Linked DNA regions of Homo sapiens: regions 1, 2 and 4 are each linked to region 3. The links are contacts of gene promoters, found by promoter capture Hi-C in blood cells and fetal thymus (Javierre and others, 2016). All regions are on one chromosome and are shown on one strand. Each heading gives the region's core, a stretch centred on a gene start or on the middle of the fragment in contact. The rest is flanking DNA. Distances are from core to core; before and after follow the strand shown.

What was found. The method cuts DNA at HindIII sites, captures the fragments that hold promoters and counts their contacts. A CHiCAGO score of 5 or more calls a contact.
Region 1: a contact is called between the fragment with the promoter of RALGPS2 here and the fragment with the promoter of ACBD6 in region 3, in 1 of 17 cell types (non-activated CD4 T cells). The highest score is 6.8, in non-activated CD4 T cells.
Region 2: a contact is called between a fragment that was not itself captured here and the fragment with the promoter of ACBD6 in region 3, in 2 of 17 cell types (total CD8 T cells and naive CD8 T cells). The highest score is 6.3, in total CD8 T cells.
Region 4: a contact is called between a fragment that was not itself captured here and the fragment with the promoter of ACBD6 in region 3, in 8 of 17 cell types (naive CD8 T cells, total CD8 T cells, total CD4 T cells and 5 more). The highest score is 10.4, in naive CD8 T cells.

Annotation. Positions count from the first base shown.
Region 1 is chr1:178,723,911-178,726,610 of GRCh38, forward strand. It overlaps RALGPS2 (Ral GEF with PH domain and SH3 binding motif 2), which reads left to right and starts at 1,334. Exons shown (of 20, transcript NM_152663.5): 1 at 1,334-1,509. It overlaps RALGPS2-AS1 (RALGPS2 antisense RNA 1), which reads right to left and starts at 2,374. Exons shown (of 1, transcript NR_187252.1): 1 at 1-2,374. RefSeq lists silencers at 1,108-1,262, 1,164-1,333, 1,594-1,713, 1,914-2,143 and an enhancer at 1,684-2,273. The HindIII fragment of the contact is 4,509 bases long and covers 1-2,700 here.
Region 2 is chr1:179,026,871-179,029,737 of GRCh38, forward strand. All of the region lies in intron 1 of FAM20B (FAM20B glycosaminoglycan xylosylkinase), which reads left to right. Among named protein-coding and RNA genes, the nearest start is that of FAM20B, 2.4 kb to the left of the region's middle. RefSeq lists an enhancer at 1,860-2,735 and a silencer at 2,504-2,798. The HindIII fragment of the contact is 1,985 bases long and covers 489-2,473 here.
Region 3 is chr1:180,501,230-180,503,929 of GRCh38, forward strand. ACBD6 (acyl-CoA binding domain containing 6) reads right to left here and starts at 1,348. Exons shown (of 8, transcript NM_032360.4): 1 at 816-1,348. The coding sequence starts at 1,037. RefSeq lists enhancers at 1-270, 271-786, 894-1,394, 916-1,105 and a silencer at 1,316-1,415. The HindIII fragment of the contact is 1,534 bases long and covers 712-2,245 here.
Region 4 is chr1:182,032,188-182,034,887 of GRCh38, forward strand. No RefSeq gene overlaps it. Among named protein-coding and RNA genes, the nearest start is that of ZNF648, 28 kb to the right of the region's middle. The HindIII fragment of the contact is 1,856 bases long and covers 485-2,340 here.

The DNA of each region.
Region 1 (2,700 bases), core at 84-2,583, 1.8 Mb before region 3:
CCAATCATCTTCCTTTTTCTTTTCTTTTTTGGACTCTTGTCATTTGAAATATTGGGTGGGGGGGAACGCTTTTTTTCTTCTTTTGATTGCTCTACTTCTTCTAGTGATTTCGTCATGATTCAAGACTTTCTTTGAAAGTAAAATGGAATAAAAATGAAACACTACGAACTTTGTTGCCTATCCTCGCTGTTTTTCTTTTTGACTTAACTTTGCGTTGGGGTGCTTTAAAGTAACCCTATTTGAGAGAAGGAGGTTGAAGGGCATTCTAGCGTCCCCAACTAGAGTAAAAGGGCTATGACAGAAGGCAATCAAAGGAGGAAATAATTAGCAATCTTCAACGTTCAAGATTAATCAGTTCTGTTTAGCGGTTATTAAAGGGAAGAAAGAAACCAAATGGGAATAGTGAATTATTGGTCCTTTCATGTTTTACACTTAATGCTGGTACATAGTATTCTTTCCACATTCTACTGCACATTGCCTAGAGAAAGAACTGCAGATCATCAAATAATTATCCATTTCCAAATGGTCTAATGACAGCAGATACAAAGGCGGCTCACTTAAAACCTTCCGTTAACAGTCACACTGCATCAAATGGTGCTAGCTTTAAGTAGGCCACCCATTTAGTAGACTCTGAAACAACACCTTTCCGCCCAATTTCTGTCATTTGCTCCTTAAGTCAAGGGTAGTACCCTGCGTAACATCTTACAAAGGCCTACTTCTAACACTTCCCGAATCTTAATGTGTGAGGATGTTGATCACCATAATTTATGACCTTATCTAAGACAGTGGGGTGACTCTCCACATTGGGAGCCCCCTCATTTGTCCTCAGTGACTTCTAAAAACACCGCTGGCGTGGGCTGGATATTTGATCTTGGGGCCAAGTGCTTCCAGACTTTGTTCTCTGGCCTTAAAGGTGAAGAGCCCGGCGCTGAAGGCCACAGACATCACGGCGGATTTCACAGAGGGCCGCGTTCCGGGAGCGGGTGGCCAGGCGGTGGCGGACGCCCCACCTGTCCATCCTCCTACCCCTTCCCCCCCCCGTTGTTTGGCCGGTGGGAGCCCCTCCTTTCAGCAGGCGCCGGGCGGTGGGGTTGCGGATGGCTGCGCGCGCTGCGGGCACCGATCACCGGCGGCAGTTGGGCTCCGCGGGGCCGAAAAGCTGCGGGCGGGAAGCGCGAGGTTAAGACCCTGACGGCTGCAGCTCTCAGAGCCCCCGCGAGCGCGCTCCGTTGGTGCGCGCGCGCGCGCGGCTCCGCCCCGCCCGCTTGGCGCGCGCCCCCGCCAGGTCCGCTCTCGTCCCCCACCCCTGGCGCGGACGGGGTGGTTCCAGCTCACTCTCCTCCCCCGAGCGGCAGCGGCGGCGGCGGCGGCGGCTGCTGCGGGCGCTGAATGAGAGACGGTGACTGTTCGGGTCGACGAGTGCTACTCTAGGCGGCGGCGGCCGTGGCGGTGAAGCGTGAGGCCGGCATCGTCTTTCCGTCCTCTGAGGCGACGGCCGCGGCTGCACAGGTCGGTGGGCTCAGGCCGCGGGGCGGTGCGGGGGAGGGAGGGAGGGAGGGTGGGTACGCGGCGCCCCCCGGGCGGCGCGGGGAATGGCGGCGGCGGCGCTGCGGAGTGTGGCTCTCCCGGCCGCGGGCCCCGGGGCTGCTCGCCCTGCGCGCAGGGAGGGGGCTGCGGAGCTGGGGCTGAGGCTGAGGGAGAAGGGCGCTGGGCGGCGCGCCTCCCTCGGCCGCGGGTTCTCAGAGTCGGAGCGGCCGTGGGGTCCCCGCTCGGGGGCGCCGTCCTGAAGCCGGGGGCGCTGCGACCCCTTGAACCCGCCTCGCTCTCCCTCTTGGGTGGCGGAAGCCCCCAGCCTCCGCCCGCTCTGTTCTGGCGCCCAGCGGCGCCTCAGTCTTCCTTCAGGTGAGCCCGATCCCGGACCTCGGAGCCAGGACCAGCAGAAGCCGGGCCACACCCCCTCCCCTGGCCCTGGCGGCTGCGCCCAGAAGCCTGGCCGCAGAGTTGGCCGCCCGCGAACCCGCGGAGTCGCGGTCAGGGTGACCTGTTGCAGAGCGGCCCGCAGCCCGAGCGGCCCCCGCCAGCCCCGGCCCCGGAGGGGCTGCGTCCTGTGCTGGCCTCGGGCCGGGCGCGCGGGCCGGGTGTGGGGCAGGGGCCGCAGCCCCAGGTCGGCTTGCTCTACGGCCTGGAACCGGGCTCTAGAAAAAAAAGGAGATTCCGAACGTATCTCATCAAACACTTGCAAAGCCGGGAGATCTGTCTGCAAATATCCGGAATTCCATTGCAGTATCGGATTAGGTAGGCTCATAAACACCGTGCTTTTGAGGTGATTTGGAAGAAACGCGAGCCACGAGCGAGGAACTAGTTTCTGGAAAATAGCCGTAAACCTGTGCGGAGCGAATTATTAACCCCCCGCCCCAGCTCCCCCCTCGAAGCTCTTTTCCTGTAGCTGTGTGTTGTGTAGACGCAAGCCAGTTTCAGTGTACGTGGGCGTGTTTGGGAAGAAGCTGCGAGCTGATAGGAGGTACCTAGTACAAATGTTAATTTGTTTGAGTTGGGAGGGGTAAGGGAGGAGGAAGAAAGGGCACTGATGTTAGCTGTGGAGGAGGGGCAATTGAAATACTAAATTTCTGTTAAAAAAAAAAAACCCCAAAAGAAATATCTAATGCCTACTGTGTATTTAAGACCATAAAGTGGAATCAC
Region 2 (2,867 bases), core at 231-2,730, 1.5 Mb before region 3:
TAACCTGCCAGTCTCCGGATAAGAAGAGAAGGGGTAGAAGGATGGATTGGAGGGAAAGTAGGGGTAACAGGGCTTGGTTAGTCTTAATGGAATTATTAGTCCTTTTAAAGACCATACCATCATTGGGATGGATAAGGAGTTTCTAATTTGGGAAAATGAGAGTTGCTTGCTATTGCGACTTGGGTCTAGTGCCAGATATCAGCATCTTCCCCACCCAGCCAGCTTCCCTCTGGAGGTTTGATTTCTCACTTGGAAGGGAAGTAGGAATGTGGGGTTTTTTTTAGCCTTTAGCCTTTAAACTGTAGGACTTTATAAATCTATAATCTGGTACAAATTACTATTGCCATTTATTAGCCACGCCTATGTTTTTTGCGTTGTAAATTCTTGCAAAAATTTCACTGGCGTTGATTTCTAAAAATCTGGTTAGAGATCTCAGTGTTCTTATGTATTACAAACATTCCTTGAGTTTATGCAGGATCTTTGAGCTAAGCTTAGAGCACTTCCTCAAATATGATTCGTTATCACGACTGTCTGAGAAACTGAGGTACAAATGGTAAAGATGCTAAATTATTTGCCCAGACTCATAGCCAATCTCAGGGAGATTTAAAATCAATGTATTCTATTAATAACTTTTCTAAAGTTTGCAAAGATGTTGGACTTTGGCCTCTCGAACCGTACAATGGAATCAGTCAGCAGGAGTCCCTTTCCCATTTGAAATTACTTATCAAAGGAGAATACAAAGGCACACACAAGTATAATTCAGACTCTCAGCCTCACTCATGATAAAGTGCAGTGATAAATATGGATACAGGTAAAAGATGATCAAGACATCTTGGAGTTCACAGCGTTTCTTTTCTGTGTGGTGAAAATGTGACATTGGTATGCTCTATTCGTTTCTCTAGAACTGGTAGGACAGTAGCTATGTTTTGGTGAATGAATGGAAACTAGAAAACACATACACTGCTTTTCTTTTTGGTTCTTAAGATTAGAGAAAAAACACATCACTGCTTCTATCATCTTTATTTTTATAATCTTTTATATCATGGAAGTATTTTATGTTAAATTGATAATTCCTTGACTTTTAGTTCATTCCCTTGATTTCCATTTGTAGATTCCAGCCCTTTCACACAGCCTTAAAGTTTCTGCTTCTTATCTCTTCTGAATTTTAAATTCCTAAATGAAACTTTCTGTTCCTTCAGTTTTAGGGCAGACTTCAGCTTCCCACACTTTGTGTGTCTATCATTTCATTGGTGTAAAACCCTAAAATCATTTCATTAGTGTAAAACCCTAAAGCCAGATACTTCAGCTGTTGAATTGATAACTTTTTAAAATAGCTAACCACAGAGGTTGTCTTTTGGTGATTGCCACAATCTCATAACAGAAGCAGGAGGGCGTTCTTTGTATTCTGTAAGAATACATAAAAAGACAGTTGGTCGGGCGCGGTGGCTTATGCCTGTAATCCCAGCACTTTGGGAGGCCGAGGCAGGCGGATCACGAGGTCAAGAGATTGAGACCATCCTGGCCAACATGGTGAAACCCCGTCTCTACTAAAAATACAAAAATTAGCTGTGCATGGTGGTGCACGCCTGTAGTCCCAGCTACTCAGGAGGCTGAGGCAGGAGAATCGCTTGAACCCAGGAGGCAGAGGTTGCAGTGAGCTGAGATTGCACCACTGCACTCCAGACTGCTGACAGTGAGACTCCGTCTCAAAAAACAAACAAACAAACAACAACAACAACAGAAGGAGACTGTCTTCTGAATCTGACTCTTAGTCCTTCTGGGACTAAGTGCCAGGTGGTTTTGTGGATTGGGATGGGGAACACAGTTACAATGAGGCCCTACAGTTTGTTGTAATTGTTACAGTAATCTGTGTATCTGTGTATTTTTCTCTCTGCACCTGACAGTGCCTGTATGTAGAAGGTGCACAATAAATATTCGTCAGTTGAATGAATAAATGGAAAACAGTATGAGGGAAGGGGAAATATTCTAATGTATATACTAAATTATTTAGTTCCTCTTTTTGTCAAAAGAAAAAAAAAGCGTAGAAAATGTGTTTCGGATTACTGTTCAAAATATTCTGTAGAGGTGTGTTATTTGCTTCTGTGATTATATGGTGTTCTAAACCACCTGGAGCCTGGCAGTAGCCTGTGCAGGTTCCAGTCAAGTGCAGCTTCACAACCTTGCTCCTACAGTCTGTTCTGGCTAGGCTAATTGGGCAGTTGGATTGATAGCCAGTGTTTTTGCATTAATAGAAGAACTTAGAGCTCTTGGCAATGGCCATGTCAATAGCATTGACCTGACTGCCCTTGTCCCTTATTTTGACGGTGGAAGAGGGGAGTTATCCCTTTTTAAGAGTACTTCTCCAGCAGTTCCTTCTTCTACACCTACATATATCTTCCTGTTTTCCTTCAGCTGTCTCTGTAACCCCAAGTACTAATGAATTCTTTAACATAGGCCTGGGCTGCAGAACAGAAGCTTACTTTGCTATTGAAACCAGCTTCTGACTAACTTACAATGTCAGCATGACTGCTCGAGCTGCCTAGAAGAGAAAATAATGCAAAGATCTCACTTCTGATTTGGTCTTTCTTACCAAAAACAAAAGAAGAAATGCCTAGCTTGGGATGTAAAGAATCTACATGACAGATGGGTGCGTCTGTCATCCCAGTGTGAGATAAGAGAAAAATGTAAGCTGATGCAGAAGAGACCTTGAGCTTTGGTGTGTGTTTAAGGTCTGTACTTTCTGGCAAGATAACCCCTTTAGAGAAGAGGGTGCTAACTTGGGCACGTTATAAAGGCAGGTCAAGGAATATGAAATTATGAATGTGTAAAGAGGACAGAACCAAGTACAGAGGGAGGCAGTGAAGTCT
Region 3 (2,700 bases), core at 98-2,597:
TTGTATCAAACAGAAAGGAAGACATACTCAACGAAAACATAAATCAAAGATATTTAGGATTTTATAAAAATCACAATAAAAGTTGTAATACTGCATTTTGCATTGCATCACATTATTATTATTATTATTATTTGAGGTGGAGTTTCTTCGCTCTTGTTGCCCAGGCTGGAGTGCAATGGCGCACAATCTTCGCTCACCGCAACCTCCGCCTCCTCAGCCTCCCGAGTAGCTGGGATTACAGGCATGCGCCACCACGCTCGGCTAACTTAGTAGAGACGGGGTTTCTCCATGTTGGTCAGGCTGGTCTCCAACTCCCGACCTCAGGTGATCCTCCCGCCTCGGCCTCCCAAAGTGCTGGGATTACAGCCGTGAGCAACCACGCCCAGCCCTGCATCACATTATTACAATCCTATTATCTTTTTGGATCTCTATATAGTTTTATTAACTTTACCGTATTTACTTCCATGTGGCCCTCTGGGAAAGAGTAAATGAATGATATATCTTATTTTATCCTCATTTTGTAAAGGTTCTTGGGCTGGTAAAATGCAAGATCACTGAATAAGTCAGAGAAAAAAACACAAAAACAATGTCCAGTGTCCAGCTAAATAAACATCACTCCTAAGAAAGCAAACATCTTTTCCACGTTCAGGATGATGCTCATCCCCAGCAGATGGTCAAAAAAAAAAAAACAAAACAAAATACACATACACAAGCTTCATTACACCTAGCTATTAACCATACATGCTTGCTATCAGTTGTTGAGGAAGAAGGCTCCGTGTCTTTCTCCCCCATCCACCCTCTCCCTGCTACTTTACCTGTTTGTACCTGGCATACAGGTACAAGAGCTGCTCCCTGCTGGCCACCTGAATCAGGCCTTGCAGGTGCGCGGCAGCCTTCTCAAACAGCTCGGCCAGGCAACTGGTCTCCTCGATCTCAGGGCTATGGGGGAACTCCACCTCCCCGGAGTCGTCCCCTGAGCTCAGCTCTCCACCGCTGTCGCCGGTGATGGCCCCCGCGGGCAGGAATGATGAAGCCATGTCTCCTTGCTCGCTCCGTCCCTCTGTGTCCGGTCTGTCCTCCTTGGATTGGGTGTAAGGCCGGCTTGGAGGCCTGGCCCACCAGTCTGGGTCGCGAGCCTGAGCTCCAGTCGGACCCAAGCTCAGTCGCGGCGCGCTCCCTCACGTGACCCTGCTCCCTGCCCACTTCTACTCCCTGGGCGTGCAGAGCAGGCTCCTCGACCCTCTGCCGCTCTGCCCAGTCGACCCGGTCTCCTCCGGCTTCCCTCCGGCCAACAGCGCGCTCAGGCTCGCCTCAGGCCCCTCCAACGGAACAGGAGTCGAGGGGCAGTGAGGCCGGGATGCGTGCGAGCGCGGGGCGCGGCTGGCGCTGGGCCGTGGGGGCGGGGCGGCGTGCGTGCCAGCGGCGTGCGATTCTGTGAGGCCTGCTCTGCGCCGGCGGGGAAGCGCGGGCGACGCTACGCTGGACGTCCTTCCCTGCCGGAGGAGAGAAAGTGCCGTCAGCTGTAGGGGCGTCTTTTAATCGTTTCGCTGAAATTAGCAGTCCCGAGCTCCGGAGCCCGCCACCGGGATGGGCCCCCGGGGGTGGGGGAAGGAGGCCGTTTGTGTGGTAGTGTAGCGGTGAGAGCGGAGTCGCGGGAAACGCGAGGCTGAGGACTAAGGTTCCGCCTGCCCCAGATTGTGCGCCCCAAGCGCCTCCAAACAGCCCTGCGCGCGGATCTGTTGCGTGCGCGTTGGGCTCTGTGTTGAATAATGAAAAACTGCGAGATGGGGCTGTCCCGTCTTACTGTGTGACTGATGAGTGGAATCACTGCTCTGCGTGTTTCGCTCTCCACACCTTCGGAGCCCGCACCTCTCCGGGCCCTGAATAATAGGGTTTGGGGAGTTCGGGGCGCGCCTTAGCCCAGTTCTCATCCCGAGCTCTGTCTTTGACACTGTGCTTTGTAGACACTGTACAGTGAAACCAGAAGTACGGCACAGTTCGGCCCTAGAGGAATGCACAAAACTATTTTTTTAACTGTAACATTATGAGTGGTTATGTCCTAAATGTTAAACACAACGACGCACTATATATTCATTTAGTATTCAAAACAATGTAATAAGCACTATAAGAAGGGTACAAAGAAAGTGTTGTAAACAGTGGTTATTGACTGGGGTTAGGCTTGCGACGGGTGGACGGACGGCTGGACAGGATGAGGAAGCAATGAGAGAACACAGGAAGGTGAGAAAGCTTGCATCAGGATTCAACAGACATTCCTTAAGTCTCCAGAAAGTTCCACTGTTAGTCCCTGCTGTCAAGGTGCTCGCAATCCAGTCAAAGGGATGTTTAATGACCAAATTCTTGCAATTAAAAAGTGATTAAGAATAATGTATTGAGGACTTGATCATTACAACATAAGGTAGGTACTCTTATTTTACTACACATAGGAAATCAGCACAGAGTGGTTAAGTAACTTGTCAAAGGCTACACAGCTAGCAAATGGAGGAGCAAGGAAAAAGAAGTTAGCTTTCATGTGGGGTAATAATGGATGATGAACCCGACAAGTAGACTGAAGGAGATATAACATGGACTTTTATATCTTTGTTTCTAGAATTTTTATTAAAGTGAGAATTGAATATTATCAACGGCTTTTTTGGCATCTTTGGAGATTATCTGCTTTTCTCCTCTAGTCTTCGAAAGGAA
Region 4 (2,700 bases), core at 163-2,662, 1.5 Mb after region 3:
GTCTCAAAAAAAAAAAAAAAAAAAAAGTTGTCTAAAGTATTTTATTGTTGTTGCCTAAACTAATTGACTTCTGTGCTTTTGGTCCTTGAAAACACTGTTTTAATAGTTACACTTTTTTCTGTAATAATACTTTACATGTGTTAAAAGAAAAACTTTAGACAAATTAAATTTACCAGTTTATTTGAGCAAAGAATGACTCAGGAATCATGCATCACTGAGAACCAAAAGTTCAGAGTGCTGCACAGTGTGAGCAATGGACTTTTATAGGCCCAACACAGAAGCAGAGGAGAGGAATCACCTGATTGGTTGGGCATGGTGGCTGATGCCTGTAATCCCAGCAACTCGATAGACTTACTAGGGAGGATTGCTTGAGCCCAGGAGTTTGAGGCTGCAGTGAGCTGTGATCACACCACTGCACTCCAGCCTGGGCAACAAAGCAACCCTCCTGCCCCCACCCTGACCCCATCTGCTGTACTTGTCAGTAAGCTTGCTTTGGGTTTATGAGATCCAATAAATATGGATTCATATCAAACTGTTTGTCTCACCTTATTCATCAGTTGACACCTATCAAAGGCATATCCCGGGCACTGTTCTGAACATGTGAGGACAAGAGATTCAAAATGCTAAAGGCTCACAATATCACAGCAAGATGCTATTGGGAATTAGAGAGACCAGCATGTTGCTAACAAGAAAACCTGCGTATGTGATTGCAGAATTCTACAGGTGGTCTTAAAGAAGTTTTCTCATGGGCCATATTCATATTCTGTGCTTTATTCAGCTTCATATTTTTTCTCTAGCAAGGTATCATCAAGAGTTTGCAGGAGGACATTGTTACTCTTGCTGAAATTCTGTCAGCAGGACTAAGGTTACATATTATCATGCCCCTTCTGCTTCCAATAACAAATGACCTTAAAAATAGCATGGCCTGAGATCTATGCCAAGAAAATATCCACATTATATTTGTAATTCACACTGTTCTGAAGTTGAATTTGTGATTATTATATTGAGACTATATTAAAATACTTCCCTAGTTGTATTTATTATGCTCATGAGATTTGGTGATTTATTATTAAACCTCTTAGAGTTAATTATGTTTATTGCCCCAGTCTTTTCTGAAGGAAACTTGGGAATTGTCTTTCTTATCCCTAATTAGGAAATTACAAAATGCTCTTCTGAGCACATGGGAATTGTTTTCCCTTGCTCCATGAGACTGACCCACCAGGTTTATTAAACAAAAACCTCTTTGATAACAGATCAAAATTTTAACTTTACTATTAAAATATATAAAGATATTCTATTAAATAGCAGATCAGCTTCACCCCTTCTAGTTCCTCATTTTACATTTTTGAGGGAAGAAGGGTTTTTTCCCTCTGGTTGAAAACATACTTTTTAAAAAAATAACAAAATTGCCAAGTTATAAATGTTGTATTAGTTTGCTAGGGCTGTAATAATAAAGTACTATAAGCTGGATGACTTAATAAAAATTTCACCTCTCAGTTCTGGAGGCTAGAAGTCTGATATCAAGGTGTCTTAAAAGTTGGTTCCTTTTAAGGGCTGTGAGGGGGAGTCTGTTCCAGGCCTCTCCCCCTTGGCTTTGTTAATGGCCATCTTCTCCCTATGTCTCTCCACGTTGTTATCCTTCTATTCATGTCTTTCTCTGTGCCCAAATTTATGCAATGGACTGAAAGTGTCCACCCTAAAATGCATATGTTGAAATCCTAATCCCGGTGGGATAATATTTGAAGGTGGGGCCTGTGGGAGGTGATCAGGTCATAAGGGTGGAGCCTCATGATTGAAATTAGTGCCTTTTATAAGAAGAGGTCCAAGAACTGCTAGCTCTCCTTCTGCCGTGTCATGATCCAATTAGAAGTCAGCAGCAGTCTGCAACCTGGAAGAGGACCTTCACCAGACCCTGACTCTGCTGGTGCCCTGATCTTAGACTTCCAAGCCTTCAGAATTGTGAGAAATAAATTTCTGTTGTTTATAAGCCATCCAGTTTATGGTACTTTGTTGGAACAGCCAAATGAATAAGACAATTTATATGAATAGACTTATGGTTCTGTGACTTGGTTTTTTCACTCAACATTTTCTAAACCTGTACTTACAGCTTCGCTTCATTCATCTTAACTGCTATTTAACATCCCATTATATTAATAAAACACAATTGATTTATGTATTCTTTTACTGATGAATATTTAAAATGTTTCCAAAGTTTTGCCATTACAAATTATGCTGCAATTAATATTCTTACATATATTTATAATCTCCTCATGTATACTTAAATTTCTTAAGGGGGAGTGGTCTCCTGCTATGCTGATTGTGTTGCCTCATCAATAAAAAAGCTTAACTGCTTATCCTCAATATGTCTCTATTTATAAATTATATAAATGTCCTATTGTATTAACATGTAATACCCATTATCAAATGTAAATTTTTTCTTAAAAGATAAGTACAAAATTCTACTATTTTCTTCCCATATCCCATTTGAATTGCTAAGGTATAAGGTATAGATATATTGATGATTACTGATACTACTATCATATCATCATCATCATACTGTATTAATAGTATTATATCAATGTAATATTAAACATCATTATATTACTCTCCAAGAACTGTACCAATAATTTGCATTCCTTTTATCAGAGTATGAAAATTTCCATTTCTCCACATCCTTACCAACACTTGATGTAAATATGT